2 separate regions of the Homo sapiens genome follow, and region 1 is linked to region 2. Evidence: promoter capture Hi-C in human tissues and cell types (Jung and others, 2019). All regions are on one chromosome and are shown on one strand. The core of a region is centred on a gene start or on the middle of the fragment in contact, and the rest is flanking DNA. Distances in the headings are between cores, read along the strand shown. Region 1 has its middle 3.5 kb from the start of LINC03018. Region 2 holds the start of UBXN2B (UBX domain protein 2B).

What was found. Contacts are between HindIII fragments. The study calls those that stand out against the background at their distance.
Region 1: a fragment that was not itself captured here is called in contact with the fragment with the promoter of UBXN2B in region 2 in 1 of the 25 tissues and cell types used here (dorsolateral prefrontal cortex).

What each region holds. Positions count from the first base shown.
Region 1 is chr8:57,739,535-57,745,712 of GRCh38, reverse strand. No RefSeq gene overlaps it. Among named protein-coding and RNA genes, the nearest start is that of LINC03018, 3.5 kb to the left of the region's middle. The HindIII fragment of the contact is 8,204 bases long and covers 1-6,178 here.
Region 2 is chr8:58,407,639-58,413,702 of GRCh38, reverse strand. UBXN2B (UBX domain protein 2B) reads right to left here and starts at 2,342. Exons shown (of 8, transcript NM_001077619.2): 1 at 2,234-2,342. The coding sequence starts at 2,317. RefSeq lists enhancers at 1,897-1,946, 2,227-2,276, 2,287-2,346. The HindIII fragment of the contact is 13,427 bases long and covers 1-6,064 here.

The sequences.
Region 1 (6,178 bases), core at 1,981-4,480, 670 kb after region 2:
ATTTCAGATTTTCAAATGAGAGATGTTCAACCTGTAGAATAAAGCTGCACATTTTAAAGTCCATTTATATAGATGATAAACCATTGAGATACAGTATATAATGAAAGTGAAAGTAATCAGGAATGGAAAACCAAACGCCGTATGTTTTCACTCATAAGTGGGAGCTAAGCTATGAGGATGCAAAGGCATATGAATGATACAATGGATTTTGGGGAGTGGGGGAAAGGGTGGGAGGCAGGTGAGGGATAAAAGACTACACATTAGGTACAGTGTACCCTACTTGGGTGATGGGTGCACCAAAATCTCAGTAATCACCACTAAAGAACTTACTCACACAATCAAATACCACCTCTTCCCCAAAAGCCTGTGGAAATAGTTTTTTTAAAAAAGAAAACACCAGTATACGTTGCACATAGGAAACATAAACGTTATTTCCAAAGCTGTTAAAAAAAAGAAGGTGAAATAATAAGCCTAAATTTAGCAGATGCTGGAATATTATAGTAATACATGAATCAATTATGGATGATAAATATATGTGCATTTATAACCTAAACATCTATAATTGATCATATATGGTTTATTTTATATTAGATTCTTAGTGAACAACGCAACATCTAATACCAAATATTAACATTGTTCTTACAAGAAAATTTTAAAAAATTATTTTTCTGCCATGTTTCCTAATGCTACCAATATATAATGGTGAAAATTTCTTATTTTATTCTATCTGGGCTTTTTTTTTTTTTATTTTTAGGAACTGTTTTGCAATGGAGTTCCTGCCAGTGACTTTAAACCTTGTTTGGATGACTATTTAGCATGGAGATTTCTACTTGTTTGCAAATAATCTGCTTGAAATATCAAAGAGGAGACCACAGCAATTATGAAACAAACAGAATCTTACGGACTTCTTTTTATTTTTTTTCCCCAGATATTTGGATAGGTCAGATGAAATCTCACATATTGAAATCACTTATTTATAAGCACTAGCTACACAAAATGAAATCAAAGCACAGTGAATAAGGAATTCAAGGAACTACTGTCCTGGGGTAGTAATATCTTGAGATTCTGAAATTTATTATTTCTGTCACTAAGCTAGAGAATGGTAATTGAGCTAGACTAATATAACATTGCTGTTGAAAGTCTCTGACTATTCTCTCAAAGGATATGGTCTTTGTGACTAGTCACAGGTTTCACTTAAACTCATTGCTTTTGACAATAACAAGTCTCTCTTTTTTGGACTTGTCCACATTGTGCCAAGTGGAGCTGAGATTAGAGAGTTTATCAGTTGTAGTAGATATCCATAATGGACCAACAACAACAAACACAATTATGTGAACTGGAATTTAATTCCCAGCCATAGCAGCCAGGAAGAATTTACCAAATCTATCAGTCGTCAAATTCCATGACGTGCCTGAAAATATGTGGTAATTAAAAATGTAATCACTGAGGCTAGAAAGAAGATACTATGTTCTCATTTAAGGTCTTAATTGACTCATGCAGAAGATGCCTGTTAGTTTATTCTGCATGATTTGGTAATTTCAATTCTACATGGAACTGCAGAGTCTTACGTACTAGTATTGATGTGAGAGTTTGAAAGGGCAGAATGATCCATACATTTGCTGTTGACCTGCCACTTGGAGAATTTACTGTCTCAGAACTTCTGAATTGAATTAGAATTCTTCTCTGTGGTGTACACTCAATAAAGAAGGCATCCAGTTAAAATTAATCTGGTAGATTCAGACTCAACACACAGATAAGATGGAATAATCACTATATTAAAAGTCACTTAGCTTTCATTCATTTAACTTATTTATTTACTGTCTCACCATATTCTTTCTTTCAGTTTTATACTTAATGTCAAGAACATTCTATGGAGAGAAAGTGAACTAATATTTATTTAAAACATTTTAAAAGCCACTTAAGGAAATCTATTACTACTTGCTTGCTACTGTATAAGGCAGTTCACCTTTATGTTCCTATTTACTGCTCTCAGCAAACCCAGGAGATAAATACTATTATTAATGCCATTTCACAGACGGTGAAATTGAGTCTTAAGGTGATTAAGTCACTTGTCCACTATCCTGCAGCTAATAAATGGCATATAAGGGATGTGAGCCCAGGTTTGCCAGGCTGTAAAGGTCTAGTTTTTAACTACTCTGCAACAGTAGCAGGAGTACCAGTAGGAACCATAGTAGGAGCAAATAGCTAACATTTACCGAGTACTCATTGTATGCCAGCCCCAACCTTTTTCCCAGACAGCTAGCTCAGAGCCATCCTAAACCAAACCACGCAGAGTTCTGTGCCAGCCTGAAATAGCAGTGCCCAATGGCCAACAGCGTCTCCCAGCACCTAACAGGTTCTGAGGCATGTACATCCCTCTGTGGAAAGTCTCTCCAGCACTCCAGAGGAGAGACTTCCAGCAATTACCAACTGTGAGACACCTGAGTGATTTCTGAGCCATCAGTGAGTCACGGCCATGCATTCTCCACCATCTGGAGTTCAGCTACGATGGCCATGAGGAGATCTTCCCTGGGTGTTTCATGTCAGCCCTGGAAATCATGCCTGCTCCTTCCATCTGTGGCTCCTAGGTTCCTTAGTATTCTCTTTAATTCTCAACAGGCAACTCCTCATAAGCAAATCTTCTGTTAATAATTCCTTATATTACACTTTGTGGTTGTAAACATTGCATGTGTTCTGTCTCCCAACTGGGCCCTAACTCATATATTATTTTCATAAAAGCTCCATAAACAAAAACAATCATTAGCTCCTTTTTACAGGTGAAGCAACAGAAGTACAGAGCAGTGAACATGGTTTTCTCAAGTCTGCTAGCTCTGAGAGTTGATAGGTCTGGCTCTCCTTTATCCCCCTTGTCTTACAAAGGTTGGAGGCCCCCTGAGTCCCATTCTCAGTCAATTCTCAGTCTAGTCAACTTCCTAGTTCTTTAGGCTCCAACTAGCACTGAATTTATTTTCAGTTAAGACCTGAATTGTTTCTCCTATCTCCCAAAAGATTATATTTTGAAGCCATTCTCTCAATGTGACTGTATTTGGAGATAGTGAAGAAATTAATGTTAAATAAGATACTGAAAGAGTAATCGATCATGTTAAAAGTGATTGATGAGGGTCTTAACATGATAGGACTAGTGTCCTTACAAGAAGAGGAAGAGTCTTTTTCCACAAAAAAAGTCATGTGAGGACAAGTGAGCAGGTGATTGTTTGCAAGCCAAGGAGGTGGGTCTCACCAGGAACTGATGATGCTAACACCTTGATCTTGGACTTCCAGCCTCCAGAAATTTAAGAAAATAAATTTATGTTGTTTAAGCCATTTAGTCTGTGGTGTTTGGTTATGGCAGCCCAAGCCGACTAAGTCACAGCCCAAAGCTGGTAAATCCAAAATCCACACCTTTAGTGTTAGTTGTCTACCACACATCTCCATGTAGTTTTCAAACTTTAATCTTGCCTCCCCGAATTGTCCTCCTCATCAATTCTCCATCATCATTAAAGGCCTCACTAGCTGTGGAGTCACTTGAGCCAATGACCTTGGGATCTCCAACTTCTTTAGTGCCTCACAGCCTTCATAGTTATGACAATTCTAACTATTAGATAGTCTAGTTCATTTCCTCCTTTGTTTTCTATACAACTTGCTTATTTCATGATTTAATTATATTTCATTTGTTCTTTTGCAGAAGCAAAGTGATCTTGTTGTCTTAGTGCTCCTTTTCTCCATCCCTTTTTACTTCACGCCATAAATCCTGATCTGATTATGCTGCTCTACAAACCTTTGACAACCCCTTACTCACAGCAGCTTTTCCAAAGTCTGTCTCACAGAAGATACACCCGAGAGACAGTCTTATAAAAACAATTTTGTGGTTTGACTCACAACAGCCATTAATATAGTAAAGGCTCATAAAAGACCTGCAGAATGTCTTCGATTTAACTTTATTTAGTCCAGCATTTTTCAAATTCAGGAACTATCCATTCTCTCTGTCCCATTTTTCCCTCTTTGCACATGTTTGGCAGGATGTGCTGACATATTAGATAAAATAAAATCTCTTAATCTTGGTGTGGCAGAGTCTGGTTGTCACCCTGTAGTGAATACCGCTGTTGTCCTGCACATACCTCCTTAGATCTTACTGTTTCTATGGGACTGAGCTCAGCCTCCATCCTTTGGGGGCAGCCTGAGCCTCAGGCTGAAGGATGACAGAGAAGCAGGAAAGCCCAGCTGTCTTATCTCAGGTCAGGATTACCCTGAGAGCTCATTTTCCTTCCAGAGCTTCCCCCATGGTTCATGCTGACACTGCAATCCTGGGATCGTTGCCTGCAGTTATACAAGGCTAGCTTCTTTCTCTTTCCTGTCTTGTTGAGATAATTAATAAATCATGTGCATACAAATCTTTGTCTTGGGCAAGCATCTGAGAAAGCCAGCCTGAGACAGTACACCAATATTCTTTCAAAGCCTATGTTATTGCATAGCAGTAATGTAGTTCAGAGAGAGCAGTAACTCCATTCTTCCTACCACAGTGATTGGCTTAGGAGAAAGGAAGTTTATGCCAATTAATGCATAGAGCTACCCTAAAATAATCCAGAATTGGGATTAATTCTGGATTGGACATGAGGTCTACTCAGACCATTGACACATGAGGAGGGGATTTGCTGTATAAGTATATAAAGTTACATAAAAATTGGACCCAAAGGCATTTATTGTGAAATAATCATTCTTCTAGCTCTGATTCATCTCAGATGGAATGTTAGCTAATGGCGAATTGAGACTATTTGCAGTGACAGAGTTCTGTAGGAAGGCTTATTTGAGTAAAAATAAATAGCAAACAGCAATGTGAATCAGACCATGTTTGAAAAAGAAACAATGTGAAGGTAGTTTTAGTTTATTAGGAATTATATATTTTCATTTAGAAAAATCCTAAATGAGCATTTTTATAGCCACAGAAGCAGAGGAATCTGTTTCACCAAGCTTCATGATAGCCTGGTATCAACTTTGCTGAAATATTTCAAACCCTCCTACATCAATGTCTCTCAAAGTGTGAACCCTAAACCAACAGCGTCAGTGCCACCTGGGAACCTATTAAGAGTTCGAACTGTTGAGTTGCATCAGTAAACCCAATGAAGTAAAATCTTTGTGGCTGGAGTGGGGGTGCCTGGCAATGTGGGTTCTAACAAGCTATTTGTTGATTTCACTACATGCCAAAGTTTGAAAATCTCTGTCCTACATGAGGGCTCACACTTTACCTTTCCTGTCTTTTCCTTTATTCCATTAACACCATTCTCATTATGTCTCCTATCTATACTGTCTTTCATGTAAAATGAAAGACATATACATAAACCATCACTCTGATTCAAAATACAGTATATTATGAAAGGAATCAATTCAATTTCATACGTATCATAGATTTTTACCTCAGAAATAACTTGTTTCTCATTGCTACCATAGCAAATAATATCTCAGCAGCTAGAGTTTTCTTAATATTTCACAAGTTTGTATTTATGTTTCACGTGCTGCTTTCTCAAAGGGAGATGTTTTACATATATATCTACATATATAATGACTATGGTGATGAATCAACATGTAGATTCTTTTGAACAAAGCACTGCATACTTTTTATTTTATATAAATAAATTTTGTGCTTTTTTAAACCTCTAGTTGGTTAAAAATGACCCCATAATCTGGTCTAAATATTAAAAGCTTTCAAATTGATTCATACTTCCCATCTATCCCCAACAATACTTAATAATGCTTTAGGGAAGTTCAACTATTTCTACTTTTATGTTTTGAAACTGGGTTTTATTCTGCTTTGCTAAACTTTTAAAAGATAATTATCTCTAAGTATTCAAGTTAAGTAGATGAATCTCTGTCTAACTTATGAGCAGACTCCTAAAATTCTCAGAAAACTGGGTGAGTATAATGAATTATTTTTATAGAGCTATAAACTAATCATATTTTTATAATAATGTGAGTCTAGCAAACACAGATTGAGGTCAGGTAATTTTTCAGGTTAACATTCTACATTACTGTAACAATTTTTGTTATTCTTAAATGAAAATTCTTGATAAACATGAGCATGGCTCTTTAAAAGCTTCCTACACTGGAAGATCTGCTACCTGGATCTCTGCTTCTCCATGGGAGAAAACGCAAGCTTAAGAGGATATGAGAGAAGGCAAAACGG
Region 2 (6,064 bases), core at 1,093-3,592:
TATGCAGCTTTTCTCTGGTGGTACCTGGAACACTCCCTCCTGATTCAGATGCTGACAAACCCTACACTGCATGGCAGCTAAGATACACTTACTCAGGGGTAATTCTGCTTGTTCCAATTGGTAATATGTTGCCCCTTTACTCACTCTGAAAGACTCTTAGAGCAAGCTGTTAGGGAAGTAAGAAATATCTACTGAAAGCTGCACGAACTGCGTAACTCTTAAGAAAAGCATGTCTAGATTAAACGGTAACAAGATAATCTATAAATAATCAATATCCAAGGTACCATTTGGGAAGAACATTATTTAATTCTTTTAAACTTTTGATACATACTTTATTTCTTGATATGCCATCCCTTTGGCTGTTTTCAAGTTTCTTTGCAAGTTCTTCACATTCATATTAAGTTCTAAAGGAAAGATTATCAATACTTAGATACTGTACTTGATACACCAAATCACATTCATAAAGAAATCAGTTATCTTCCTACTGCCCTAACCTACAACAAGTAGACAGGAGATGAAAAAAAAAATCCCCATCATAACTTAGGGTGGAAATGAAGGCATTCTCACAATTAGCAACATCTACCAGAGTATCTCCAAACATTAATCGTACTTTGATCCACTGGATTAAGACTGCAAACAATTTGCCAAGAATCAGGTGGTCATTAAGCAAGCTGTTCTCACTTTTCACATAAAAAGAAGAAATGGATTTAAATTAGGGAAAGGACATTAAGTTACACACTCTATTAACTTTAATGATATTAGAATTGACTAGCCAGGGAAAGTTATAGCATCTTTCTCCTGAGGAAAAAGGAATCAAATATTTGCCCAGCAACAACTGAGCCAGGATAATGTAGGAATTTTGCATAGGCCCTTTATAACATTATTTAATCCTTACACCACCACCAGCACCCTGACCTTCCTCAGTTTACAAATGAAGACACAGGATCAGACAGGTTAAGACATTTCTCCTAAGTTCACAAAACTACTAAGTAGCAGGACTAAGAGGCAAACCAAAATTGGTGGGACTACTAACTCCATGCTGCCTCTTAGTGATGTGGGTTTATAATAGGAAAGATGAGGTACACAATAGCTTCCTATCCCTTGATACTGTTTACTACTACTGAACCAACTATGGGAGCTGGAACTATTCTACATTAAGTTCACCTCCTAATGTTACACTGATCTCTCCAGCCTCCAAATTCTTCGCTTTATGCACTGCTTATTTTGGCACCCAATCATACTCCATCTTAAAATGTTATGCTAAGTATTCATACCCTATTTCTCCGAAGAAATCTGTAGGCTTCCAAAAGGTAGAACTGTCTTTTACACTTACATACCTACCCATCAATAGAGTTCAGCACCGACTAAGGATTTGATGTCCTTATTTCCACATTCGCAAAGCTCAGCAGTATGTTACAATGGATGGTGGTTTGTTCACATTAGAATGAAGTGTGGTTGTAAAGTAATACAGTAAAACTGTTCTACCAAGATTCTCCTTAGTATCTCCTTACTGATATTTACTTGTCAAATTTTTATCAATAATCTTATAATGAGACACAAAAACGCCTAAAATGAGAAAAGTGGCGTTAGTATCTGATAAAACGGGATTTGGTGCGCTACTATTTAGCTAACTAATACTAGTGTCCTACACAACATTACGAAATTTTATTTCCCAGTTTCTTCAGTGCAATGTTTTAAAGACCACAGCTTAGACAACTAGGCTGTATGGGCATAGAGTGCATCGCTTTCCTTCACCCCTTTAAAAGAAAAACCTACCTGATAAAATGGAACCATTTTTATATTTAAGTAAGCAAGTCAGAAATAGCATCCAAGACAAAAAAGAACAAATCACGTATCATTACTGTTCAGGTGACTGTCTACTTCCCTGCGGCCACAGTAACCTTTCTTCTGGAGTAAGTCTCAAGAAGGAAGCATCAACCCGTGAACCGACCAACTGACCCCGCAAAATGTCATTCTAAACGAATAGCTATTTTTACATCATACGTGGGGTGGAAGGGAGACAAAGCACCAGCGCTGGAGGCTTGGGCACTTGTGTTCACGACCACCACAGTGTCAAGACCCGACATCGGGAGACCGGGCGCCGGATTCTATCCCCAGACGGGGTCGGGGAAAGGCTCCGCCGAGGCCAGAGGTGGCCTCCAACTCGCACCAGCCCGCGCCGTCACCAGCCCGCGTCCACCGCCGCGCTCCCTCCCCCGGCTCCTCGCCTCACCTGCAAATCCCGCGCGCTCGGAGGCCGCGGCCCGGAAGACCTCCTCTCCTGCTCGCCGGGCTCAGGGCCTCCGCCCTCCGCCATCTTCCGCTGGCTAGCGGCGCCCGCTGCGGACGCACCTGCCGCAACTTCCGGGGCCGGTTGCCTGGCAACCGCAGGAGGGGCGAAGACGCGCAAGGTGCGTGCGCGTCCCCGCTACCCGAACCCGCGCCCCCGCTTCCGGTGCTGGCCCACCTTTTTGGTTTCTCCTTTTTTCTTAAAGGGAGTTTCTCCGCAGGGAAACCTCTGTTAAGTTTTGTGTTGCTCCTGCTACTCGCCTAAAGGCACTGTAGGCCGCCCTAGAGGGCAGCATAGACTTGCAGATTCATTTAGCTCAACAATGAAAACATCCTCTGGATTTTTCATCTGATGAAAAATTGCAACCTCTCCATCTAGTCTTGGTCAGATTCTCTGATCTTTCCTATCAAGGATTGGATGGTACATCGTCACCACAGCGTGAATTAGCACTGAGAGTGAAAAACACCGTAAAAAGTGCTTGGAATAATTTGCTAAAAGCAGAACTCTGCCGGGCCTGTGGCTCACGCCTGTAGTCCCAGCACTTTGGGAGGCCGAGGCGGACGAGGTGATCGAGACCATCCTGGCCAACATGGTGAAACCCCTTCTCTACTAAAAAAAAAAATATATATATATATATATATATATATATATATACACACACATATATATATACACATATATACACACACATATATATATACACATATATATACATATATATACACATATATATATATATATATACACAAAAATTAGCTGGGCGTGGCGGAGCGTGCCTGTAGTCCGAGCTACTGGGGAGACTGAGGCAGGAGAATCGCTTGAATCAGGGAGTCGGAGGTTGCAGTGAGCCGAGATCGCGCCACTGCACTCCAGCCTGGCGACACAGGGAGGATCCGTCTCAAAAAAGAAAAAAAGCAGATCTCGAGACTATCAAGCCCTCGTCATTCAACTGAAATTGATTTAGACTCTGGTCTTCTTATCCTAGGCACTTTTTGTTTTTGAGACGGAGCCTCGCTCTGTCGCCCAAGCTGGAGTGCAGTGGCGCGACCTCGGCTCACTGCAGCCTCCACCTCCCGGGTTCAAGCAATTCTCCTGCCTCAGCCTCCCGAGTAGCTTGGACTACAGGTGCGTGCCGCCATGCCCGGCTAACTTTTGTATTTTTAGTAAAGACGGGGTTTCACCATGTTGGCCAGGATGGTCTTGATCTCCTGACCTCATGATCTGCCCACCTCGGCCTCCCAAAGTGCTGGGATTACAGGCGTGAGCCACTGCGCCTGGCCTCCTAGGCACTTTTATGCCCAAGGGATGCAAAGGTAAAAAGAAATAGTCCCAGTCATTATGAAACTCAGTCTAGTAGGGAAAAGAGACATGTAAACGGGTAAGATGCAGCTTGCAGTAGAGCTTTGCTTGGGAGGGTTACAAAGGAAATGTGAGCCATGTGAGGGGAAATACTCCGTTGGTATCTGCTGTGTGCACCATGCTAGGTGCTGGAGTCGACAGCTTGCCGCCCGAGCTTTGGCATACTGATCGTTTTGATGTATAAAGGCATTTGAGGCTGGGCGTCGTGGCTGACGCCTGTAATCCCAACTCTTTGGGAGGCCGAGGCAGACGGATCACTTGAGGTCAGGAGTTTCAGACCAGCCTGGCCAACGTGGTGAAATCCTGTCTCTACTAAAAATACAAAAATTAGCTGGGCGTGGTGGCGCGTGCCTGTAGTCCCAGCTACTTGGGAGGCTGAGACAGGTGAATTGCTTGAACCCGGGAAGCAGAGGTTGCAGTGAGCAGAGATGCACCATTGCACTTCAGCCTGGGTGTCACAGAGAGACTCCGTCTTAAAAACAAAAAACAAAAAACAAAAAAAAGCATTTGATAAACAGCAGGTGCAAGAAGAGCACTCTGACCTTTTCTTCCTGAAAGCAGGAAAAGAAACTACCATGTGATAGATGCCCTCCCTATACCAAGAGGAAAGATACTCATCACCAGAGAAGGGGAGTTGAGGCCGAGAAACATCTGTACAGATATTGTTAAACTAACCAGTATCTTCCTAGATACTCTTCCACGATTGCCTCTCTTTGTTCAACCTAGTATATAAGCACTTAGGCCTAGCCACTTCTTCGGGTGTTTATTTTCCTGTGAGGACACCCACTTATACGTAAAGTTTTATTAAATAAAATTTGTATGCTTTTTCCCTGTTAATCTGTTTTGTGTCCGTTTAATTCTTGGACCCAGCTGGAGACTCTGAGAGAGTAAAGGAGAAAATTTTCTCCCCCAGCTGTGCATTCCCTGTGTAATTTCATTTATCCCTCTACCAGGTAGTTATGATTATCTTGTTATACCCGAGGAAACCAGATGATGAAGACTAACTTCACCCTGTAGTAAATGGCAGTGCCAAATACTAAACTGCACTTGTTTTCCTGATACTCTCTTAACATCAGATTCTGCCCTAGAAATCTCGGGCTCTTTAACAAGAAATGCCTCATAGAGCCAAAGACATTTTAGCTGAGTGTTGAAGGAAAGTACTTCCAGTAGAAGTATTAGACCAGAAAGAATCTTGGTAAAGGCAAAGATATTTACAAAGACACTGATATTTAAAATATTATATTCATGTCAGCAAATTGCTATATGGTTGCAACTTAGAAATGACAAAAGATGGTTATGGAATGGTGGGGAGGAGACAGATGTAGAATGGAGGCTTGAGACAGATTCTGAAGGATCTTGCCTTAGGTTGGGGATGGAATCCTCTGAGCCAGTGATTCTCTAACATTCTTGTACATTAGAATCACCTCTTCTCTCTCGTCTCCAGGTACTCAGATTTATTAATAATTGGTATAGAGTGGGAGTCAGGCATCATATTTCTTAAGATGTTCGCAAAGTGGATTTTGCTGCTGGCCATGACAGTATACCTGATGTTGGACTTGTCCTCCCACTCTTAACAACTAAAAACAACAGTTTTAAGGCATTGAGCAACAGGCAGTACAGGTCTGTGATATCTGAAAGAAGGAAAACGAACAAGGTGACTATATTTGCCCAGGCTCTTTATTTTTATTTATTTATTTTTTGAGATAGGGTTTCTCTCTGTTGTCCAGGCTGGAGTACAGTGGTGCAATCACGCCTCACTGCAGCCTCAATCTGTCTAGTTAGAGCAATCCTCCCACCTCAGCCTCCCGAGTAGCTGTTGCCTTGGCTTTCTGCATGGAACTCTCATACACTGCTAGTGGGTCCTAGAATGGTACAGCCACTTTGGAAAAGAGGTTGTCAGTTTCTTCTAATGTTAAATATTCCATTATCATAAGAACCAGCAATTCTACTCTTAAATATTGACCCAAGAGGGATATAAGTATACATTTATAAAGTATTTCAACTCAAATGTTCATAGAAGCTTTATCTGTAATAGCCTGTAAACTGGAAACAATCCAAATGTCCATCAGCCAATGAATGGATACAATTTTGATAAATCATACAATGGAATACTACTCAATAGTAAAAAGGAAGAAGTTATGGATTCACATGTCTTGAATGAATCTCAAAGATATTATCTTGGGTAAAAAAAGCCAGGTGCGAAAGAGTAAATATTGTCTGATTTAATTTATATGAAATTTTAGAACAGGCAACACCTTTAATGACTAAAAGCTGGTGGTAGCTTGGGGCTGTCTTTTGGAGTAAGGATTCAGTTCCCCAATTGTAGGACATGTAGGAACTTTTTGAGGTGACAGAAGTGTTTTATAACTTGATTGTGGTGGTAGTTACACAGGTATGTATTAATACGTTTGTTAA